Regions from separate parts of the Homo sapiens genome. Here region 1 is linked to region 2. The links are contacts of gene promoters, found by promoter capture Hi-C in human tissues and cell types (Jung and others, 2019). All regions are on one chromosome and are shown on one strand. The core of a region is centred on a gene start or on the middle of the fragment in contact, and the rest is flanking DNA. Distances in the headings are between cores, read along the strand shown. Region 1 overlaps RABGEF1 (RAB guanine nucleotide exchange factor 1). Region 2 holds the start of SBDS (SBDS ribosome maturation factor).

Region 1 (5,965 bases), core at 589-3,088, 180 kb before region 2:
TGCTTCCTCTGGCATTCACTGTGGTTTTGGTAAATAATTGCCTTTTAAAGGATTAAACAAATGAATGCTACAAAGTGTATGTTCAAGAAAATTAAATGGTACCACTCTTCCACAGTTTGGAATAATTTTATAATTGTAAAGATAGAAATTATATTGATAAGTAAATATGTAAAATTGTAAATATGTAAAAAAAAGAATGGTGTCTGCTGTGCATGGCATTTTATATGTTAATTTTTTAGTTTAAAATGAAGTATATTGAATGTTTGCCTTTAGCACCATTTTATTTGGTTTGTCCCACTAAAATGACTCGAGAAGTGTTTAGACAAACTCCCCTTAAGATGTGCACTCCATCTTTAAGAACGTGTTAGCCTTAACTTTGAGGTTCTATATAGTCAGAGACTATGACACCACTAAGGTTCAGAATAAAGTTTAGGCCACATAAAATTGCTGTTTAATGTAGTCGATGGAAGACTTTAAACTATGCTTCTAGCTTATTTTTCCCTCATTCATTCAGCAAATCTCTATTGAGTTCTTCAGTGAGAAGGAGCAGGCACTGGGCCTGGAATGGAAGGCGGGAATGAATGGGCCTCTGATGGTGAGAGGTGACGGGGTCCCTCAGCTGTGAGATGCAAGGGGCGCCTTGCAGCCTCCATAATATACATTTGACTTTGCAAACGTCTAGACATGTTTTCTGAACCTTTTTCAGGACATTTCAACCTCGGGACTATTCATATTAGTGGCCTGAGAGGTGTTTGTTGTGGGGCCACCCTGTGCATGGTAGAATGTTCAGCAGCATTCCTGCCATCCATATCCATTAGGTGCCAGTAGCACCCCCGCTAGAGCTGTGAAAAATTCTCTCCAGACATAGTCAGATGTCTCCTGGGGCCATATCACCCCTCCGTTAAGAACCACTGATGTCTTTTACAAACCAGGAGTTATCCTCCTGGTGGTTAATATGGTGTAACCAAAGAATCTTGCACTCAATGCACAGTGTGATGTTAACTAAAACGAGTTAAATATTTAGGAGGCTTGACAGCTACCTGCATTGTAGAACCTTTTCTTATCTCAGTGGAACCTTCTATAACCTAAATATACCATTGATGATTCTTCTTCCATTCAGTGACATCCACAGATTATGCAGCTATACTTGTGAAATCGTGCATGAGGCCCCAGGGCACCGTTCTAGAACAACGTCACTTCACACAGGCAGCTGAGAAAGGTTCTCTTGCTTTTCCAGTATCTTCCTAAGGATGGAGCCCAAAATTGCAGAGCAGTAACTTTGGAATAAAACCAGGGTGGGTATAAAACTTCTTATTCTTAAATTTACATATAAGATCTATTAAGCTTGACACATCTGTGTCATCACGCACTGAAGACAGGAAGCAGTTCACTGAGTCAGCTGGTTCCCAAGCTCGCACAGAAGGTGATAAGTTACTATCAAATGCCAGTGAGAATCTTCTTATAGAATAACCTGGGCCCAAGTGATTTTAGTACAAAACTTGCCCTTCTTTGGTTTAATTTTCTATGTGCTTTTAGGTGTGAATCCAGATATGCGGTCTTAATTCCTTTGGAAATACACAGTTCGTTTAGTTACTGTACACTCTGTTTGTTCAATAAACTGCATATCAACTTCCCACAAAAGCTGACTTTTTTGGGTCTCTTACATATAAAGTAGGTTATTGAGTTGATTTTTTTGGAGGTATCTCATATTGGTCGAATTCTTCTGGTATGGACTCTTGCCTTATATAGAGGCTTCTATTTCTCTTAAGTCAGCATCAATACAACGGCCGGAGTTTCTGTTTTTGCAATAAGAAGATGTTGGTATTTTATGTAGGGTAAATGTGACTGGAATACACCTTTGGAACGGAATTCTTTATCAATAAAGTTTCACAATCCGTCCCTCTTCCAAAAATTGATTTGGTTCTTTCTTAGGAAAATATACATTATTATTAATATTCTCATGCTACAGAGGTTTTCTGGTTAAGCTATACCTAAAAATGAAACATTAGAGACATTTGTCAGTTAAAATTAAGAAGACAAGAATATTTGCTGTCACCACAATCAATCAACCTTGTTCTTGCAGTTCTACCAAGGTACTCAGTCTTCAAACAGACATAAAAGTAGAGAAAAAAGGAGTTAATGTAATCAATATAGAGCTATTATTGTCTGTTGGTGAGGACATGAACTCTGAAGCTGGAAGGCTTGGATTTGGTTTTGAATTTTATTCTGCTACTTATTAGCTCATTGGCCCTGAACAAATCTCTTGTTTCAGATCCCTCAGCTGTGAAATGGGGTTAATAATATTACTGCTTCATGGGGTTGTTGTCTGAACTTAGAACAAATGATAGCTATTATTTGTAGATGGTTATTTTATGTAGAAAACCCAAGAGAAGGCTGGGTGTTGTGGCTCACGCCTGTAATCGCTTTTGGAGGCAAGGCAGGAGGAATGCTTGAGGCCAGGAGTTTGAGAGCAATGTCAGCAACATAGTGAGACCCACATCTCTACAAAAAAAAAAAACACTAGCTGGGCATGGTGGTGTGTACCTGTAGTCCCAGCTACTGGGGAGGCTAAGGTGGGAAGATCACCTAAGCCCAGGAATTTGAGGTGGCAGTGAGCTGTGATCTCACCATTGCATGCTAGCCTGAGTGAGACCCTGTCTTGAAAAACAGAAATGTAAAAAAAGAAAACCCAAGAGAATTTATATTGAAACTATAGAATTTCATCTCTATATTAGTGAAAGATGAAAATTCTAAAATAGCGATAAAAGCTAACTGTACAAAATGATTTTCCTATATACCATTACTAACCACTTAGCAAACATTGTGGAGAAAAAAATCAATTTACAATAGAAACAAATATAAATCACCTACAGAGAACAAGAGCTTTCAGGATCGATACGAAAAACAGAAAATTGAGTGAGAAGCACAAAGGTGTGACTGCAAAGGGCCCTGTGCTTGGACTTTAGGGCTCTGTAGCTGCCATCGTGAAATTCTTCTTTTTTGTTTTTGTTTTTCTTTGGGCTGGGGGGTATAGGGTCTGGCTCCGTAACCCAGGCTGTGGAGTGCAGTGGTGTGAACATGACTTACTGCAGCCTGGACCTCCTGGGCTCAAGCTAGCCTCTCGTCTCAGCCACCTGAGTAGCTGGGACTACATGTGTGTGCCACTGTACCCAGCTAATATTTAAATTTTTTATGGAGACGAATCTCACTATGTTGTCCTGGCTGATCTTTTTTTTTTTTTTTTTTGAGATGGAGCCTTGCTCTGTCACTCAGGCTGGAGTGCAGTCGTGTGATCTTGGCTCACTGCAATCTCCACCTTCTGGGTTCAAGTGATTTTCCTGTCTCAGCCTCCCAAGTAGCTGGGACTACAGGTGCGTGCCACCATGCCCAGCTAATTTTTTGTATTTTTAGTAGAGATGGGGTTTCACTGTGTTAGCCAGGATGGTCTTGATCTCCTGACCTCGTGATCCACCTGCCTCGGCCTCCTGAAGCGCTGGGAATACAGGCGTGAGCCACCGCGCCCAGCTGTCCAGGCTTGTTTTAAACTCTTGGGCTCAAGCAATTCTCCCACCTTGGCTTCCTAATGTGCTGGGATTACCAGCATGAGCCTCCGTGCCCCACCCCACCGAAAAAAGAAATTTATACTTAAGTTTTTGCCCACAGGTTCCTCAGTGTGTTAAAAAGGTTGAATGGGGAACCTGAAACTCCTCCCCCTGCTTTTGGAAGTGTAGGGCACTTCCCTTTCTCCACAGTGTCAGTAGAGGATGGGTGGAGACTGAACTTCCAGCCCTGCCAGGTGAGAATGAAGTGTTTGTTCCTGTCCTCTCCACCCTCTTCTGTGGTGTTGGTGGGGGCTGAGGGGGGAGCCTGGATTTCTACCTCCACCCATGATAATGAGGTCACAACTCACTTTCTTCACCAGTGTGACATTGGCTAAAGAATATTTAAATTAGATTGAGAGCCTCCTAACATAACAACACCCCAAACCTTCAAGACACAATAAAAAAAATCACTGACCATCTGGGGGCAGTGGCTCCTGCCTGTAATCCCAGCACCTTGGGAGGCCCAATGTAGGCGGATCACCTGAGGTCAGGAGTTCGTGACCAACATAGCTGAACGTCATCTCTACTAAAAATACAAAAATTAGCTGGGCGTGGTGTTGGATGCCTGTAATCCCAGCTACTCAGGAGGCTAAGGCAGGAGAATCACTTGAACCCGGGAGGTGGAGGTTGCAGTGAGTCGAGATTGTGCCACTGCACTCCAGTCTGGGAGACAGAGTGAGACTCTGCCAAAAAAAAAAAAAAAAGAAAAAAAGGCCGGGCACAATACCTCACACCTGTAATCCTAGCACTTTGGGAGGCTGAGGCGGGTGGATCACCTGAGGTCAGGAGTTCCAGACCAGCCTGGCGAACATGACAAAACCTCGTCTTTACTAAAAGTACAAAAATTAGCCAGGTGTGGTGGGAGCCTGTAGTCCTAGCTACTCAGGAGGCTGAGGCAGGAGAATAGCTTGAACCCGGGAGGCGAAGGTTGCTGTGAGCCGAGATCACACCACTGCACTCCAGCCTGGGAGACAAGAGTGAGATTGTGTCTCAAAAAAAAAAAATCACTTATCATATCTGAACCAAATGACACATGTGTTGGAATTATCTGACAAAGATTTTAAAGAAGGCATCATAAAAATTCAATAACTAAAGACAAACATGCTTGAAACAAATGAAAAACCCCAGCAAAACCACTGAAGACATGAAGCAAATGGAAATTTTTGAATTTAAAATGACAATAACTGAAAGTTTTTAAATTTCATATTAGAGGGCTGGGCGTGGTGGCTCACACCTGTAATCTCAGCACTTTGGGAGGCTGAGGTGAGTGGATCACCTGAGGTTAGGAGTTCGAGACCAGCCTGGCCAACATGGTGAAACCCTGTCTCTACTAAAAACACAAAATATTAGCCGGGCATGCTGGTGCATGCCTGTAATCCCAGCTACTCAGGAGGCTGAGGCACGAGAATTACTACTTGAACTGGAAGTGGAGGTTGCAGTGAGCCAAGATCATGCCACTGCACTCCAGCCTAGGCGACAAAGCGACACTCCATCTGAAAAAAAAAAAAAAATTCATATTAGAATTGCAGTGATCGAAGAATGGATTAACTGGGATATAGATCAATAGAAATTCCCAATGTGAACAACAGAGCAAAAATTGAACTTTTAAAATGTAGGCTCAGGGACCCGTGGGATGGTTAAAAGAAAAAAGAGATCTATCATTGTCACTGGAGTAACAGAAGGAGAGGAGAAAAATGCATATGGCTAAAAAATATTAAATAGCAACTGAAAATCTCCCCGAAATTTTCATGCCTGTAATCCCAGCAATTTGGGAGGCCGAGGCAGGAGGATCACCTGAGGGCAGGAGTTGGAGACCACCAGCCTGGTCAACATGGTGAAACCCCATCTCTACTAAAAAAATACAAAAATTAGCCAGTTGTGGTGGCATGAGCCTGTAACTCAGCTACTCAGGAGGCTTAGGCAGGAGAATCACTTGAATTCAGGAGGCGGAGGTTGCATTGGGCTGAGATCACGCCATTGTGTTCCAGCCTGGGCAACAAGAATAAAACTCCATCTCAAAACAAACGAAGACAAGTGCTAGCATGTGCCAAAGGGATCCCAGACCACCATCTCTCTCTCTCTCTCTCTCTTTTTTTGAAACAGAGTCTTGCTCTGTCACCCAGGCTGGAGTGCGGTGGCACCATCTTGGCTCACTGCGACCTCCGCCTCCCAGGTTCAAGCAATTCTCCCGCCTCAGCCTCCCGAGTAGCTGGGATCACAGGTGCACGCCACCTCACCCGACTTAATTCTTGCATTTTTTTGGTAGACGTGGAGTTTCGCCATGTTGCCCAGGCTGGTCTCGAACTCCTGGCCTCAAGCCATCCTCCCTCCTTGACCTCCCCAAATGCTGGGATTACAGGCGT
Region 2 (6,266 bases), core at 1-2,500:
TTTTCCCTTGTGAGGGCAGGAGAGAAAGTCCTATGTGAATATACTTGAAACTTGGACATGCATTTACATTTAAATACGAGATGGCAACAACATGAACGGCAAGACACAACAAATCCCCCTGATGACCTTTAGTGTAGAGGGCAGTTTTCTTTTTCTTACCCCCCAACCCCCGCCCCTAGATGGAATTTCACTGTTTTTGCCCAGGCTGGAGTGCAATGGCGCGATCTCGGGTCACTGTAACCTCAGCCTCCCGGGTTCAAGTGATTCTCCCGCCTCAGCCTCCTGAGTAACTGGGATTACAGGCATGCGCCACCACACCCGGCTAACTTTGTATTTTTAGTAGAGATGGGGTTTCATGTTGGCCAGGCTGGCCTCGAACTCCTGGCCTCAAGTGAACTGCCCGCATCGGCCTGAGGGAACATTTTCAAAACTCAGAACCGTATTTGCCTTACCATTTGCTCACTGGAGAAAAATGTCATGGGAGGACGTAAGAAACACAAGGGTGGGGTGGGGTGCAGACAGCTGCTGCCACGGAATGCCAGTCCCTAGATGGCAGCAGTGAAGACACTACGCACTTTAAACTGCTAGGGCTACTGAGATCTATGACACCAGATGTACCCACAACTATGACAGTATTCGTAAGACTAGGTTCTCAGCCATCATTATTCTAGGAAAAGGACCACAATTACGAGATTTCTTGGCTGCAGCTTTTATGACACCAACAAAACAAAACCCCAAACCAACAACCCAATCCGAACCAACCAAATAAAGAAGAAACCCTTGGCTTAGGCGCCAAGCTCGGACAGCGACGTCTCATGCTCACAGCAGGAATGTTCCATTTCCTCCCCGGCCAACACCCCAGCCTGGCCCATTCACTCGACTTGGGCAGAGACAGGCCGCCTCGGAGGTGACGGCTCAGGCCCAGGCCCAGGCCCGAGGGAGGGGGCTACTCACACGCCGCTCCGCCAGCCGACGACCTTGTTTTTGTAGCAGGCGATTTCGAAGCGCTTCCCGGCACGCTTCATCCGTACCACGGCCACATTGGTTAGGCGGATCTGGTTGGTGGGGGTGAAGATCGACATCGCGGCTGTTCAAAGACCCAGAAGCCGGCGAACCAGGGCTGACCCGCGCCGTCCAGCCTGAAGGCCACCAGCGCCTCGCGGTAACGACCGATCGGCGCGCGGCACTGACCCAACCACCAGTGCGCGGCGCCGCGACTCACTAGCTTCAGGCAGCCGTCACAGTGTGTCTGGCAGGCTTACTTACTGCGCAGGCGTCAGGTGGAGCAGAAGCCGGGAGGGGAAAAGTGAGCGATGACGCCTGCGTATTGTGGCTTTTTACGCCATCTTTCCACGCCCAAAAAGGGAGGTGCTTTTCCTTGGCGTATTTACTTTCGCCAATGAGCTGAGAGCTCTGACAGGATGCTCGCGGATGTTTAGTGACCGGGTTAAAACACAGCGTTGGCACCACCTCGTTCCGCGGAATTCAAGGGCCAGACCCACTTTATAATATAAATATTTTTTATAATAGAATTATTTTATAATAAATATTTTTATTTACTCACCCTTTTATAATAGAAATATTTTAACATAAAATGTAGACAAAAAAGTGTAATGAACCTTCTATGTACCCATCACCCCGCTATCAACATTTTGCCATCCTTGTTTTATTCTTTTTTCATTTTTTTGTTGCTTTTTTATTTACAGTTTTTTTTTTAAGTCAGTCTCACTCTGTCACCCAGGCTGGAGTGCAGTGGCAGGGTCATGGCCCCACTGCAGCTTCGACCTCCTGGGTTCGAGCGATCTTCCAGCGTTAGCTTCCCAAGTAGCTGGGACTACAGGTGTGAGCGGCCACGCCAAGCTAATTTAATTAAATAAATAATTAAAAAAAATTTTTTGTACAGACGAGGTCTCACTATGTTGCTCAGGCTGGTCTCGAACTCCTGGGCTCAAGCGATCCTCCCGCTTCGGCTTCCCAAGTGCTGGGATTACAGGTTTGAGTCACAGCGCCCGGCCGGTTGGGGGTATTTTAAAGAAACCATCATATGGTTTCAGCATTAAATACTTCAGCCTATAGCCCTTAACAGATACACGCGACGAGATTAACTACAATTCCTTAATATCATCTAATAGCGAGTCCATCCTCGGGTTTCCCAAAAATAATGCCTTTCTACAGTCGGTTTATTTCAGTTAAGATCCAAACAGGCCCACATAGCATTTCCCCCGCTCCCCGCTCCTTTCCTCTTTTAATTTTCCCATGCCAATCATTTCTCTCTGGGCCCGCCTTTTCCCAGTCTGAGCCAATCCAAATGGAGGCGGAAGCGCTCCGCCTTCATCGCCTGGAACTCTGGGAGGTGCTTATTTCTGGGCACGCCCCCTTTCCCCTCTGAGCCAATCGGAGCAGGGCCGAGAGCGCACCGGGCACTGGCTTCCTTTCCCGGAGCTCTGGGCTTTCCTCTGGGCCCACCTCTTCGTCCTCTGAACCAATCAGGACCGGCCTGGCAGTGTCATGGCTGCCCACAGGTCTGCAGGCACTCGGTACGCCGCTAACGCGGCGAGGTAGCTCGGTGCGTCTCGCGGTACCAGTGCGAATCATCGGGCTATCCAGGTCCGAGATCCTAGTCTCCTGTCGGCTCTGAGGAGGATGGGTAAGGGCACTCGGCGGGCAAGGACCCTGGGGCGGCAGGGGAGGTAAACGTTTTACTGAGACCCTCTCCGGGCGGAGTGGCGTCCTCGGTCCCTTTCCTTCGGAGACTGTTGCACTTGACAGCACCGGCTAGTCGCCGCTGAGAGCAAGGAGGACTGATCCCTACTTTTGACCTGGCTTTTGCCTTTTGAGGCTAGGGGGTTAGACAGAAAACTACCCCTCCCACTTTACCTACGTGTATTAGGACTTTTGCACCTGTAAAGCCTAAATTTCAGGCCTCGACTTTTGAAATTGCTCCCAGGTTGAACGTTTGAAGCCAGGTCCCTGCATATCTCTCTTAAAAAAAAAAAAATGAGGTGTAAGGTCAGTTACTTGAGAATCTTTTACAAGTTTAACCGTGAGCCTTTGAAAGTACAGTTAGTAAAAAGAGTGCTTTTACTACTTAAGCTTTTTTTATGGAGCAAGCACAACAAAACAAAATTAATTTCACATGAAGTATTTTTACTTTGTGTTCCTTCTCTTGCTTCTAAATGCTCATTTCGAAGTGAAGATACAATTTTATATTCTGTTTTTTCTTTGAGTTAGTGTTAACAGTGTGATAATTTTATTACGTTACTACATAGTGTGTTATTTTTATTACAGTTGTTCCCCACCCCCCCGCCCCCGAGATGGAGCCTTGCTCTGTCGCCCAGGCTGGAGTGCGGTGGCGCAATCTTGGCTCACTGCAACTTCTCCCTCCCAGGTTCAAACAGTTCTCCTGCCTCAGCCCCCCGAGTAGCTGGGATTACAGGTGCGCGCCACCACGCCCGGCTAATTTTTGTATTTTTAGTAGAGGCGGGGTTTCACCATGTTGGCCAGGCTGGTCTCGAACTCCTGACCTCAGGTGATCTGCCCGCCTCAGCCACCCAAAGTGCTGGAATTACAGGCATGAGCCATCGTGCCCGGCCAACAGTTGATTTTTAAATTAGATTTCTTAGCTGGGTTGTTGAATGTAAGGTTGGTTTTATTTTCTTCTTAAAATTGGGATGGATATCTTTGTATATGTAGCTTTAAATGAAATTGTGTGTGTCATTTTAAATTTAGATCCTTCTGCGGATACATGGGACCTCTTCTCACCTTTAATATCATTATGGATAAACAGGTTTTACATTTATTTGGGCTTTGCTGTTAGCATTAGCCTTTGGATTTGTGTCCAGATTGTCATCAAGACGCAGGTAAGTGGAGTTATTTTTTTTTTAATGGAGTATTTAGGCATCAGATTTTATAGAGGATTTAAATACTAAAAGGAACCTTTAATTACTTTTGTGTTTGGTCTTTAGACATTTTAATGAAATGCCTAAAATAAATTTCTTCTCTAAGTTTTTGGAGACTAAGTTATCTTGGATTAAGTTCTTTACTTTTTCTTTGATAGGTGTGTCTCATTTTTAAGATACAGGAAGATTTTTGTAATGAAAAGTGAACCTTTTATATGAAAAACAAATTTGTTTTATACCTTTAAGGGTCAGTAGTCCTCTCTTTCCATTAATTAAGGATCAGAAAATAAGTTCCTACTATTATTCTACTAAAATACCTTATAGGATAAAAGTATGTAAAGTTTTTTCTTGGAGGGAAAGGAAATCATGAGCCTTAAAAATGTGGGTCCTGCCTATTAAAGGACCTTATTATACCAAGGGGCTAATATTTGAGGAATACAACCAGAAAGATTAAGAGAAAAATACAGTGTGTCAGATTAAGAGAAAAATAAAATGTGTCAGTATCTGTGCTAATTTTCATCCCTGCTGAAGTTGGGAAACGATTTAGACTTGATGGATTTTGTGTAATTATTTGTCTTCAAGGGCAAGAACTTACAGGAAAAATCTGTTCCAAAAGCAGCTCAGGATTTGATGACAAATGGTTATGTCTCCCTTCAAGAGAAAGACATCTTTGTGTCTGGAGTGAAGATTTTTTATGGTTCTCAGACTGGAACAGCGAAGGTAAGAAATTTATATGATGCTTTTCCTTTGGTTTCCTGACATTTTAAGAAAATCCCTTTAGCAGTGAACTTTAGCAGTGAACTGTCCTTTAGCAGTGAACTGAATTGGTCATCTAACCTTCTTTATTCTTTCTCCCAGCCTTTTCCCCTCAAATATTTTTCCATTCTGTGACGGTAGGCAGGTTTCATCTCCTGTGCCCAGTTAGAGCTGATTGGTGGTGTCTGATGGTCAGTGTCTTGAGGGGGCCTTTGTTCTGAAGTTTGCTTCTGCCTCAGCAGGCTAGAGAAAGTTGTGAGTCCATTATCGATGCCCATGGGTATGGAAGTAGGGAATAGGGAAAAAAGGATGGCACTAATAGTTCCAATATGGGCCTGACTTTCACATCACACATCTATGTTTATTTTTTATTTTGTTTTTTGAGACAGAGTCTCACTCTGTCACCCAGGCTGGAGTGCAGTGGCACGATCTCGGCTCACTGCAACCTCCACCTCCACCTCAAGCGATTCTCCTGCCTCAGCCTCCCGAGTAGCTGGGATTATAGGTGCCTGCTACCATGCCTGGCTAATTTTTGTATTTTTAGTAGAGATGGGTGTTTTGCCATGTTGGCTAGGCTGCTCTCAAACTCCTGGGCTCAGGTGATCCGCTTGCCTCGGCCTCCCAAAGTGCTGGGATTACAGGCGTGAGCCACTGCACCTGGCCTCACGTCACACATCTATGTAATGAAACTTGTTTTGATTTCTAATAGTGCTAAAAGTGTTAAAGGTAGACACTAAAGTAAATACAGCTGATATCTAGTTGAAAGATGCTTCCCATTCTCTCTCTTTTTTGCGGGGGAACAGTGTCTGGCTGTAGTGCCATCTAAGCTTCAGTTGCTTATCTGTGAAATGGTAAATTGCAGATGGTAATAGTATGGTTATCTCAGGGTCACTGTGAGGATTTAGTGATATTATCTGGCATGTACTTTGATTTCTCCTTTTTGCTTTTTTTTTTCTTTTTTTAAAGACAGGGTCTCTCTCTGTTGCCCAGGCTGGAGTGCAGTTGTGCCATCTTCGCTCACTGCAACCTCTGCCTCTCGGGCTCAAGGCATCCTCCCACCTCAGCCTCCTGAGTATCTGGGACTATAGGTGCATGCCACCATACCCAGCTAATTTTTGTACTTTTTGTAGAGATGGGGTTTTGCCATGTTGCCCAGGCTGGTCTTAAACTCTTGGGCTCAAGCAATCTGCCCGCCTCGGCCTCCTAAAGTGTTGGGATTACAGTCGTGAGCCACCGTGCCCAGTCCCATTCTCTAATTATATCTAGATGCTACCTGTTTCTGTGTTACAAGGTCACAGCTATTTTAAAAAAATTTATTTTATTTTTGAGATGGTATCTCACTCTGTCCCCCAGCCTGGAGTGCAGTGGTGTGATCTCGGCTCACCACAACCTCTGCCTCCTGGGTTCGAGCAATTCTCCTGCCTCAGCCTCCCTAGTAGCTGGGATTACAGGTGCCTGCCATCACATCTAGTTAATTTTTGTATTTTTAGTAGAGACGAGGTTTCACCATATTGGTCACACTGCTCTCAAACTCCTGACCTCAGATGAGCCACCCGCCTCAGCCTCCTAAAGTGCTGGGATTACAGGCGTGAGGCACCGCTCCCAGCCAAA

What was found. The method cuts DNA at HindIII sites, captures the fragments that hold promoters and counts their contacts. A contact is called where the count stands out against the background at its distance.
Region 1: a fragment that was not itself captured here is called in contact with the fragment with the promoter of SBDS in region 2 in 1 of the 25 tissues and cell types used here (IMR-90 fibroblasts).

The regions. Positions count from the first base shown.
Region 1 is chr7:66,809,553-66,815,517 of GRCh38, forward strand. RABGEF1 (RAB guanine nucleotide exchange factor 1) reads left to right here. Exons shown (of 9, transcript NM_014504.3): 9 at 1-1,912. It also overlaps the pseudogene GTF2IRD1P1. Among named protein-coding and RNA genes, the nearest start is that of RABGEF1, 72 kb to the left of the region's middle. The HindIII fragment of the contact is 5,505 bases long and covers 1-4,591 here.
Region 2 is chr7:66,994,336-67,000,601 of GRCh38, forward strand. It overlaps SBDS (SBDS ribosome maturation factor), which reads right to left and starts at 1,251. Exons shown (of 5, transcript NM_016038.4): 1 at 955-1,251; 2 at 1-6. The coding sequence starts at 1,082. It overlaps TYW1 (tRNA-yW synthesizing protein 1 homolog), which reads left to right and starts at 2,498. Exons shown (of 16, transcript NM_018264.4): 1 at 2,498-2,647; 2 at 3,730-3,860; 3 at 4,482-4,619. The coding sequence starts at 2,644. RefSeq lists an enhancer at 635-684 and a silencer at 2,249-2,368. The HindIII fragment of the contact is 8,933 bases long and covers 1-4,287 here.